Regions from separate parts of the Homo sapiens genome. Here region 1 is linked to region 2. The links are contacts of gene promoters, found by promoter capture Hi-C in human tissues and cell types (Jung and others, 2019). All regions are on one chromosome and are shown on one strand. The core of a region is centred on a gene start or on the middle of the fragment in contact, and the rest is flanking DNA. Distances in the headings are between cores, read along the strand shown. Region 1 has its middle 31 kb from the start of ZNF883. Region 2 holds the start of ZFP37 (ZFP37 zinc finger protein).

Region 1 (5,353 bases), core at 865-3,364, 75 kb after region 2:
CAAAAAAAAAAAAAAAAAAGTTTCAACTCATGTTGAAACTTAATCCCCAATGCAAAAGTGTTGGGAGGTGAGGCCTAATGGGAGGTGTTTAGGTCATGAGGACTGAGGACTTCACCCTTCATGAATGGAATGCCACTATAAAATGGAATGGATTTGCTCTTTTCTGCTTTTCTGCCATGTGAGGAACAGTGTTCCTCCCACTCCTCAAGAGGATGCAGTGTTCAAGGTGCCATCTTAGAAGCAGAGACTGGGCCCTTTCCAGACACCAAAACCTGCCATCACCTTGGACTTCTCAGCCTCTAGAACTGTGTAAAATAAATTTCTGTTCCTTATAAATTACCCAGTCTCAGGTATTGTTATAGCAGCACAAAATGGACTAAGACAGTGGCAAATGGCTTGGCTGGTTGGGCAGAGACATGAAAGGATTAATAATTGGGATACTGTAGATAAGGAAGTCTAGGTAAGAGGCATGTAAATGGATCTATGGGATTGCGCACAGGCTGAAAAAGTTTGTGTTGTAGAGAGAATCTTATGAAAAATGGGCATTAAACAAGTATACAAGGAGCCAGTCTGTCTTTTGCTACCATGGTTCTGTGCAATGGGCTCATGAATTAAGAAACCATGATTGCAGGGATGTAGGTGTTACATGGGCCCAACAACATGGTCTCTTTATCACCAAGGCTCATTCAGCTATTGTTATTGTTGAATGACTGAAGCTTCAGCTGCAGAAACTGACTGTAAGCCTCTGTGTGGTAACATCCTTTAGGAGATCAGCCAGCCATATGGTGGCAAGTTGATTAAAATGGACGCTTTTTATTTAGGAAGAAGCACTGATTTGTTCTTGCTGGAACTGGCAACTACACTGGAGGTGGGTTTACCTTCACCTTCTTCAGTGACTGACTGTATCACTATTTGAGGAGCTTACTGAGTGGCTAATTTATGAATGTGGGAGCCTGCAAAACATTGCTTCAGACCAATGTACCCATTTTACAGTGAAGGATGTATGACAGTGTGTGTATGATCATGAGATCATACACATGAGTAGATCATGAGATCTACAGGTCTTACCATATACCATATCACCTAGAAGTTGACATACTAATTTTGAAATGGCTTCTTTAAGACTAAGCTAAAGGCTGGTGCCTCATACCTGTAATTCCTGCACTTTGGGAGGCTGAGGTAGGAGGATCGCTTGAGCTCAGGAATTCAAGACCAGCCTGAGAACACGATGAAACCCCATCTCCACAAAAGATACCCAAATTAGCTGGCTTGCTAGCATGTGCCTGTAGTACCAGTTACTCGGGAGGCTGCGGTGAGAGGATCACATGAGCCCAGAAGGTCGATGCTGCAGTGAGCTGTGATTGCACCACTGCCCTCCAGCCTGGGCAACAGAATGAGACCCTGTCTCAAAAAAACGAAGACTCATCTAAGGCACCAGTTTAGGAATGACACCATTCAGGGTTAGGGTGCTCTTGTCCAAGTTGTGGTACATATATTGAAGCTATTGCCTAACAAATTGTTCTCTATCCCCAGTAGCTATTATACACAGGTCCAGTAACCAAGGGTGAAAGTAGAATTGGCTTTTCTCACCGTTATTTCCAGAGTCCCACTAATCTTTCTTTTCCCATAAACTTAGGCTGTGCTAGTTTAAAGGTTCTGTTTCTTAGGGCAGGAGTTCCACTGACCATGAAGCTATGGCTACTGCCTGGTCTTTGGGTCCCTCATTTTAATAGATCGACAGGTTAAACATACATACATGTATATGTGGGTAGATGCCATTTATGAGATTGAGGAAGTTTTTCTAGTTCTACTTTGCTGAGAATTTCATGTTAAATTTCCTCAAATGCTTTGTCTATATCTATTGAAATAATCATATGGATTTTCACCTTTATTTTTAATTTTTTAAAATTATACTTTAAGTTCTGGCATACATGTGCAGAACATGCAGGTTACATAGGTATACATGTGCCATGGTGGTTTGCTGCACCCATCAACCTGTCATCTACATTAGGTATTTCTCCTAATGCTATCCCCTCCCCTTGTCCCCCCACCCCCCGACAGGCCCTGTTGTGTGATGTTCCCCTCCCTGTGCCCATATGTTCTCATTGTTCAACTCCCACTTATGAGTGAGAACATACGGTGTTTGGTCTTCTGTTCCTGTGTTAGTTTGCTGAGAATGATGGTTTCCAGCTCCATCCATGTCCCTGCAAAGGACATGAACTTTCTTTTTTATGGCTGCACAGTGTTCCGTGGTGTATATGTGCCACATTTTCTTTATCCAGTCTGTCATTGATGGGCATTTGGGTTGGTTCCAAGTCTTTGCTATTGTGAATACTACTGCAATAAACGTATGTGTGAATATGTCTTTATAGTAGAATGATTTATAATCCTTTGGGTGTATATCCGGTAATGGGATTGCTGGGTCAAATGGTATTTCTAGTTCTAGATCCTTGAGGAATCGCCACACTGTCTTCCACAATGGTTGAACTAATTTACACTCCCACCAACAGTGTAAAAGCGATCCTATTTCTCCACATCCCCTCCAGCATCTGTTGTTTCCTGACTTTTTATGATCGCCATCCTAACTGGTGTGAGATGGTATCTCGTGGTTTTGATTTGCATTTCTCTAATGACCAGTGATGATGAGCTTTTTTTCATATGTTTGTTGGCCACATAAATATCTTCTTTTGAACAGTGTCTGTTCATATCCTTTGCCCACTTTTTGATGGGGTTGCTTTTTTTTCTTATAGATTTGTTTAAATTCCTTGTAGATTCTGGACATTAGCCCTTTGTCAGATGGATAGATTGCAAAAGTTTTCTCCCACTCTGTAGGTTGCCTCTTCACTCTGATGATAGTTTCTTTTGCTGTGCAGAAGCTCTTTAATTGGATCCTATTTGTCATTTTTGGCTTTTGTTGCAATTGCTTCTTGTGTTTTAGTCATGAAGTTTTTGCCCATGCCTGTGTCCTGAATGGTATTGCCTAGGTTTTCTTCTAGGGTATTTATGGTTTTAGGTCTTATGTTTAAATCTTTAATCCATCTTGAGTTAATTTTTGTATAAGGTGTAAGGAAGGGGTCCAGTTTCAGTTTTCTGCATATGGCTAGCCAGTTTTCCCAACACCATTTATTAAATAGGGTATTCTTTCCCCATAGCTTGTTTTTGTTAAGGTTTGTTGAAGATCAGATGGTTGTAGATGTGTGGTGTTATTTCTGACGCCTCTGTTCTGTTCCATTGGTCTATATATCTGTTTTGGTACCAGAACCATGCTGTTTTGGTTACTGTAGGCTTGTAGTATAGTTTGAAGTCAGGTAGTGTGATGCCTCCAGCTTTGTTGTTTTTGCTTAGGATTGTCTTGGCTATATGGGCTCTTTTTTGATTCCATATGAAATTTAAAGTAGTTTTTCCTAGTTCTGTGAAGAAAGTCAATGGTAGCTTGATGGGAATAGCATTGAATCTATAAATTACTTTGGGCAGTATGGCCATTATCACAATATTGATTCTTCCTATCCATTAGCATGGAATGTTTTTCCATTTGTTTGTATTCTCTCTTATTTCCTTGAGCAGTGGTTTGTAGTTCTCCTTGAAGTGGTCCTTCACATCCCTTGTAAGTTGTATTCCTAGGTATTTTATTCTCTTTGTAGCACTTGTGAATGGGAGTTTACTCATGATTTGGCTCTCTATTATTGGTGTATAGGAATGGTTGTGATTTTTGCACATTGATTTTGTATCCTGAGACTTTGCTTATCAGCTTTAGGAGTTTTTGGGCTGAGACCATGGGGTTTTCTAAATATACAATTATGCCATCTGCAAACAGAGATAATTTGACTTCCTCTCTTCCTATTTGAATATCCTTTATTTCTTTCTCTTGCCTGATGGCCCTGGCCAGGACTTCCAATACTACGTTGAATAGGAGTGGTAAGAGAGGGCATCCTTGTGCCAGTTTTCAAAGGGAATGCTTCCAGCTTTTGCCCATTCAGTATGATATTGGCTGTGGGTTTGTCATAAATAGCTCTTATTATTTTGAGATACGTTCCATCAATAGCTAGTTTATTGAGTGTTTTTAGGATGAAGGGGTGTTGAATTTTATTGAAGGCCTTTTCTGCATCTATTGAGATAATCATGTGGTTTTTGTCATTGGTTCTGTTTATGTGACGGATTATGTTTATTGATTTGCATATGTTGAAACAGCCTTGCATCCCAGGGATGAAGCTGACTTGATCGTGGTGGATAAGGTTTTTAATCTGCTGCTATATTTGGCTTGCCAGTATTTCATTGAGGATTTTTGCATCGATGTTTATTAGGGATATTGGCCTGAAATTTTCTTTTTTTGTTGTGTCTCTGCCAGGTTTTGGTATCAGGATGATGCTGGTCTTATAAAATGAGTTATGGAGGAGTCCCTCTTTTTCTATTGTTTGGAATAGTTTTAGAAGGAATGGTACCAGCTCATCTTTGTACCTCTGGTAGAATTTGGCTGTGAATCCATCTGGTCCTGGGCTTTTTTTAGTTGGTAGGCCATTAGTTACTGCCTCAATTTCAGAACTTTTATTGGTCTATTCAGGGATTCGATTTCTTCCTGGTTTAGCCTTGGGAGGGTGCATGTGTCCAGGAATTTATCCATTTCTTCTAGATTTTCTAGTTTATTTGTGTAGAGGTGTTTGTAGTATTCTCTGATGTTAGTTTGTATTTCTGTGGGATCAGTGGTGATATCCTTTTTATCATTTTTTATTGTGTCTATTTGATTCTTCTCTCCTTATTAGTCTGGCTAGCAGTCTATTTTGTTAATGTTTTCAAAAAACCAGCTCCTGGATTCATTGATTTTTTGAAGGGATTTTCATGTCTCTATCTCCTTCAGTTCTGCTCTGATCTTAGTTATTTCTTGTCTTCTGCTGGAAGTGGGGTGCAGAGAGAGGGACAGAAAAGAGTGAGTGGGATGCTGACATCACCATCTTAGTTTGGTGAAATAATTAGACCAGGCTTCAAGTCGCACCAGAAGCCAACTATGCCCCACTTACAAGTGTTCTGGCTCCACCCAGCAGCCACCAACCTTCAACGCCAGCTTCCCAGAGCCCTGCCTTTTACTGCAACTGCTGATTTGCCTGGCAGGTTTTTGCCTCTCATTTTTGCATGCATAGAACCTGGGGCCAGCAAGAGCTCTGCTAGTCTGACAGGGGGCTGAAGGGAGTCAGCATTCAGATGCCAGGGAATTTCCATTAAAATGGAAGAAAATTAAGAAATCAAATTCTCAACTCAAAAAACTAGTAAAAACATTAATATAGAAACAAAAGAAACAAAATAATAAAGACAAAAGCAGATATTGGTGATATATAAAACCAAAAGGCAGTAGAACTAATAT
Region 2 (5,445 bases), core at 2,804-5,303:
AGTGCGCCAGGAACCCGGGCCCCCGGTGGCCCCAGATGAGATGTGCTTCAAGTTTGAATGGGCGGAGGGGAGGGCACCCCGGACGGGGCACCGGAGTCCCCAGGATGCAGGGAGGGGCCGAGAGGATGGGGCGCGGAGGCGAGCCGCGGAGGGGTGGGGGATGGAGGGCAGGGGGAGGCGGGGTCGGGAGCGGCTTCGGGACCTTGGAAATGGGTCCCCTAGCGCTGCGCGCAGTCCCTCTGACACCTCCCGCTCTGTCTCCCGCGCAGGTTCTGTTCCCAGCCCGAGGCGCCTGGAGGAGCCAAAGCACCGGCCTAGATCGCCAGGGAGGACGAGCGGCCCGCAACGCCGCGTTGACGTCCGGGAGGAGCGACCCACCTCCCCAAAGCGCCGCCGACGCCACTCCCCAGAAGCCTGGGTCTCCCTCCCGTGCCCGCTCTCGCGAGTCGTCAACCACCTGGGCGGGCTGGACGTGGCCCTGGGCGAGCTTCGGGCCCCGGGGGGCGCCTTCCTCCCGGGGCCCGCCGGCGGCACGCAGCCCAGCGCCTCGCAGCGCGCCTGGCTCACCTGGCAGCTGGCGCACGCCGGGGCCGCCCTGCACTGGGCGCTGGCCACGCTCGACAGCCTGCTGGCTGCGGGGCCCTGGCCCGCGGGCCCGCCGCCCTTTGCGCCCGCTCCTGGGGGGCCTTAGGTGCGCACGGGAGCCAGCACCCTCGCCTTGGAAAAGCTCGAACCCTCTGCCCCAGAGGCGATCCCGACTCTGCACCGCAAACTCTACGGCGCCCTGCAGGACGGCGGCCTCCTGCCGCTTGGACGCCAGCCAGGAGCTCCCCGGCAGCAGCAGAGCAGAAAGAAGGATGGCCCCGCCCCACTTCGCCTCCCGGCGGTCTCCCTCCCGCTGGCTCACGGAGATAGATGGCTGCCTAGCTCCGGAAGCCTAGCTCTTGTTCCGGACATCCTAAGGACGACACCGTTTTTCCTTCCGGGGGCTCACCACATCTGGGACTTTGATGACTCGGGACCTCTCTCCCATTGAATTTTTGCGCGTTTTCTGGGAAGGGATGAGGTGTGGGCTTTGCGTTTGGATGTGGGATTGTCCTTTGAGCCGAGAGCGTTGAGAAGCCTACCTGGAGTGACACCCGTGTAGAGACTGAGCCACGTGGATTCGCGGAAGTGGGGGTGGGGGCTTGGGGCGGTACCTCACCATAGGGGATTTCCAGGGGAAAGTGAAATGCCCTCGGTGTAGGTCATTCGTAGTGGAAAGGAAAATGCCTGGTCCCTCAGCTTCTTCGTGTGTCCCAAGAAATGTCCTCAATATTTCCAACCTCTGCCCCCAGGGTCAGGAAAATATTCCTGGCAGGTTTTGGTGAGCCTCTGGAATCTCTCCGCCATTCCGCGTTTGCACCCTCGGCTTTGGCAAGGATGAACTGCATCCACGTTTTTGGAAATCAGTCGTCATGTGTTTAATGACCCTTGTGGCTACCTCTTCGAGGTGTGTGTGTGTGTGTGTGTGTGTGTGTGTGTGTGTGTGTTCATGCCAGCGTCCTATGTCTTGTAACTGAAATCTGGGAACTTGTCTCCCTACCCTGTGATGATCACCTGGGGAACTTTGGAGAAGGAGGTGGAAGGGGAATGTCCCACTTCGTGTCTTGGAACAGGTGGCTTCTTTCTTGGGAAAAGAGGTGGGATGGAGAGAATGCACCCGAGCTCTTCAGAAAGGACCTGCACTGATTGGTGATAGGCAGCATGGGCTCAGGAGAGCAGGGAGAGTTAGGGGAGACACCCACGTGCCTGGAATAGTGGAGGGCCATTTGGAGCAAGCCTCAGATGGAGAGCCACATATCGAGGTGTTCGGTCAATCCTTGTGAACCAGAGAGTGTTCCTACGAATGCTAGAGTCTCATAGAAGTAATGTCTCTTTTACGTTTTTTTGCCTGATTAATATTTTCTTCCCCTCCCGGTGCCTTCAAGTATGAATGACAATAAATACCATACATATTTACCGTGTGTGACCTCTTCATTAGGGAATTCACTAGAATCAGCCGAATTCACACAGTTATCGCCGCACTTGCTTCCCCTGTCCCTGTCGGGAGAATTTTCAGGTCTACTCGAATGAATATACTCAACAGTACAACATTATGTTCTGATCCTCCGTACTAACTCATCCCTACCACATATATATATATGTGTATATATATGTATATATATATGTGTGTATATATGTATATATATGTGTGTATATATGTGTATATATGTATATATGTGTATATATGTATATATGTATATATGTGTATATATGTATACATGTGTATATATGTGTATATGTATATATATGTATATATTATGTATATATATGTTGGTTTCAAGAAAATCCTTGAGAAACTGAACTGCCCCTCTTTCTGATTTGTGAGGAAGAAAGGAAAGGAGAGGTATTGAAAAAAATATTGTACCTTTTTACGACTCTAATATCAGGAACAATTAAAGTCAGGACCATATCTGAGGCAGAAACAAAGCAATTGCCTATCCGTACAAAGGTGACGCTCAAAGAATACTCTGTCAGGAACACAGTGTAGGGGGCCGTGTCTTAAGTAGGTGAAGAGTAATTTCAAGCCATCAATTATTTTTCAGTCTTCACTGAGTCCTTAGTTTAGTATTGCTGGATAACAAATTATCACCAGCTTTAGTGGATTAAAGTATCACAAACCTATTATCTCACAGATTCTGTAACCTGGAAGTCTGTGTATATCATGGTTAGGGTGATGGTTAATTTTATCGGTCAACTTGACTGGGCTAAAGGATGCCCAGAAAACTGGTGAAACATTGTTTCTGGGTTTGTTAGTGTGTTTCTGGGAAAAGATTAGCATTTGAATTAGCAAACTGAATAAAAAAGCCCCCACCAATGTGGGTGGCCACCACCTAATCCACTGAGGGCCTGAAAGGACAAAAAGGAAAAGGAAGGGTGAATCCTCTTTTCTATTTTTTTTTAATCTTTAACTTTTGTGGGTACATAGTAGGTGAGTATATTTATGGGGTACATGAAGTAGTTTGATACAGGCATGCACAGTGCAATAATCACATCATGGAAAATGGGGTATCTATCCCCTCAAGCATTTATCTTCTGTGTTACAATCCATTTATACTTTGTTATTTCGAAATGTACAACTAAATTATTATTGGATATATACACCTGTAGTGCTATCAAATACTAGGTCTTATTCCTTCTTTCTTTTCTTTTTTTTTAAAAACCCGTTAAGTATCCCCACTTCCCTCCCACCTTTTCTTTTTTCTTGAGCTGGGACATTCATCTTCTGCCTTTTGACATTGGAGACCCTGGTTTTCTGGCCTTTGGACTCTGGACTTACATCATCCCTACCCCTCTCCACTCTTTTTCCAGTACCTTGCATAGCGCAGCACCTAACCTGCACATATTCAATGAATGCAATTAATGCATGAAATGGCGCATTAAGGAATTATTTCTCCAAGTGCTTGATTATTCTGGTGAAATATCTTCACCAAACCCGGGCTCTCACGGAGGAGTGGTGTGTTTACTTAAGTTTCTGTTTCAGTTTTTCTTATTGTTCTTATACTATATATGAAAAGATTTATCGTATATCTCAAAGATTAACGTCCTCTCCCTATAAAATAATGTTATTTGTTCGATCAGGCTTTTCTCCGTTATGCTTCCAATTTCTCGCATCCTGCCTTTCTAAAGTCCGCACTAAGCGTTGTGATTCCCGGACTTCTAGCCGCTGGCCGCACTGACATGTATTCGGAAAAGCAATTCCAAATTCTGTAAAATATCTTCCGGCAGTGATGCGATCCGAACTCCGGCAGTGGGTTGTCAGGCCCAGGTCAGTCCTGTAGTGCGTAACGGAACTCGGTTCCGGCTGGCTCTGATCGCATCACTCCTGCATCCTGCAAGTAACGCCCTCGCCAGCTTCCACCTCCCGATCTAATTGTCCCAGAAGTCCCCGCACTTCCGCTGTACGGCTGAGTGTTTGCCAAGATGGCCGCGCCCGTGCGCTATTACCGAAGGGCGCCGCCATCGCGGCTGCCGGACCCGCTAAGGCCGCCCTCCGGGTAGCCGCCATGTCGGTCTCCAGCGGCGTCCAGATTCTGACAAAGCCAGAGACCGTGGACCGGAGGAGAAGTGCGGAAACGACCAAAGAGGCCGGGCGACCACTGGAGATGGCTGTGTCCGAGCCCGAGGCCAGCGCCGCGGTGAGAGCTGTGATGAGACAGGGTGTTTTGGCGGTCAGAGATGGTGTACTTGCGGGGCAGTGATTGGAGTAGTCTGTGACGATAGGTGATTTGGGAATTGGTGGAATCGATGCTAGATGGTCTTTTGGGAGGTCGGTGTTCTGAGTTATCTGTGGGGTTAATGATTTGGCTTTAGGATATCAGTATTAGGAGGGATCTGCAGAGACAATGATGGGGAGGCGTCTGTGGCAGTCACCGAGTGTCGGAGTTTGGAAGGAGATCAGAAATGGAGGCTTTGTGATGTGTCAGAGATAGGGAAGGACCGTGGGGGTTGGCGGTTTGGGATGTCTATGGGAGCCAGCGATTATGGGTGCCTGTGGTGGTTAGAGCCTGGGTTATCAAAGAGGGTCAGTGTTAGGATTTGGGAAATTCAGTGATTGGGAGCATCTGGGAGCATCAGAGATTGGGGCTTGGGAGTCAGTGACGGTGATGTCTGTGGAAGTTTGATTAGCAGTATCTTTGAGGGTCAGTGGGTAATGGAGGAATCGGGGGGCCAGTGAGGGGGGAATATGACTGTTGGAGTTTGGGGAGTCAATGTTGAGGTGTCTCTGGGGATGGTAGATGATTTGTATGTCATCTGGGGAGAAAAGGTAATTGGGGATGTATGCAGGTCAATAATTAGGTGGTGTCTAGCAGTAATAACTGTGCTTTGAGTAATGAGGTGATTAGTAGGAATTAATGATTGAAGATCCTCTATGATTCTGTGACTAGAAGTCTAAGGGGGTCAGGAGTTTGAGGGGATTGCTGCATTTAATGATTGAGGGTTCTTTGGTGGTCAGTGATTGGAGATCTGTGGAGGTTAATGATTGTTCTGTGGAGAGTGATAGTTGGGAACTTGCAGAGATCCATAATTGGGAGAAGTTTGTGAAGGTTAGTGATTGGGGAGTATTTGGGTGTCAGTGATTGAAAACTTGCAGGAACAGTAGGAACAGTCTGTAAGATGAGCATTTATTTTATGCCAGGGGGTATTTTTTATTTTATTTGTTTGGTGTTGTTGTTTTGCAGTCCCTGCTTTGTCCTCAAAACCAGGGAATGTTTTAAATGCTGGAGACACACCAGGAAACAAAACCAGAATCCCTCCCTCAATGACTTACATTATAGAAATATGAAAGATATCATAAAATATAAACAAATAAAATTATTCCAGACACTAATAAGTGCTGAAGTAAGTAAAAGAGGATGGTGT

The links. The method cuts DNA at HindIII sites, captures the fragments that hold promoters and counts their contacts. A contact is called where the count stands out against the background at its distance.
Region 1: a contact is called between a fragment that was not itself captured here and the fragment with the promoter of ZFP37 in region 2, in 2 of the 25 tissues and cell types used here (IMR-90 fibroblasts and heart right ventricle).

What each region holds. Positions count from the first base shown.
Region 1 is chr9:112,978,416-112,983,768 of GRCh38, reverse strand. No RefSeq gene overlaps it. Among named protein-coding and RNA genes, the nearest start is that of ZNF883, 31 kb to the left of the region's middle. The HindIII fragment of the contact is 5,184 bases long and covers 1-4,706 here.
Region 2 is chr9:113,055,332-113,060,776 of GRCh38, reverse strand. It overlaps ZFP37 (ZFP37 zinc finger protein), which reads left to right and starts at 4,053. Exons shown (of 4, transcript NM_003408.3): 1 at 4,053-4,220. The coding sequence starts at 4,089. RefSeq lists an enhancer at 3,853-4,422. The HindIII fragment of the contact is 44,168 bases long and covers 1-5,445 here.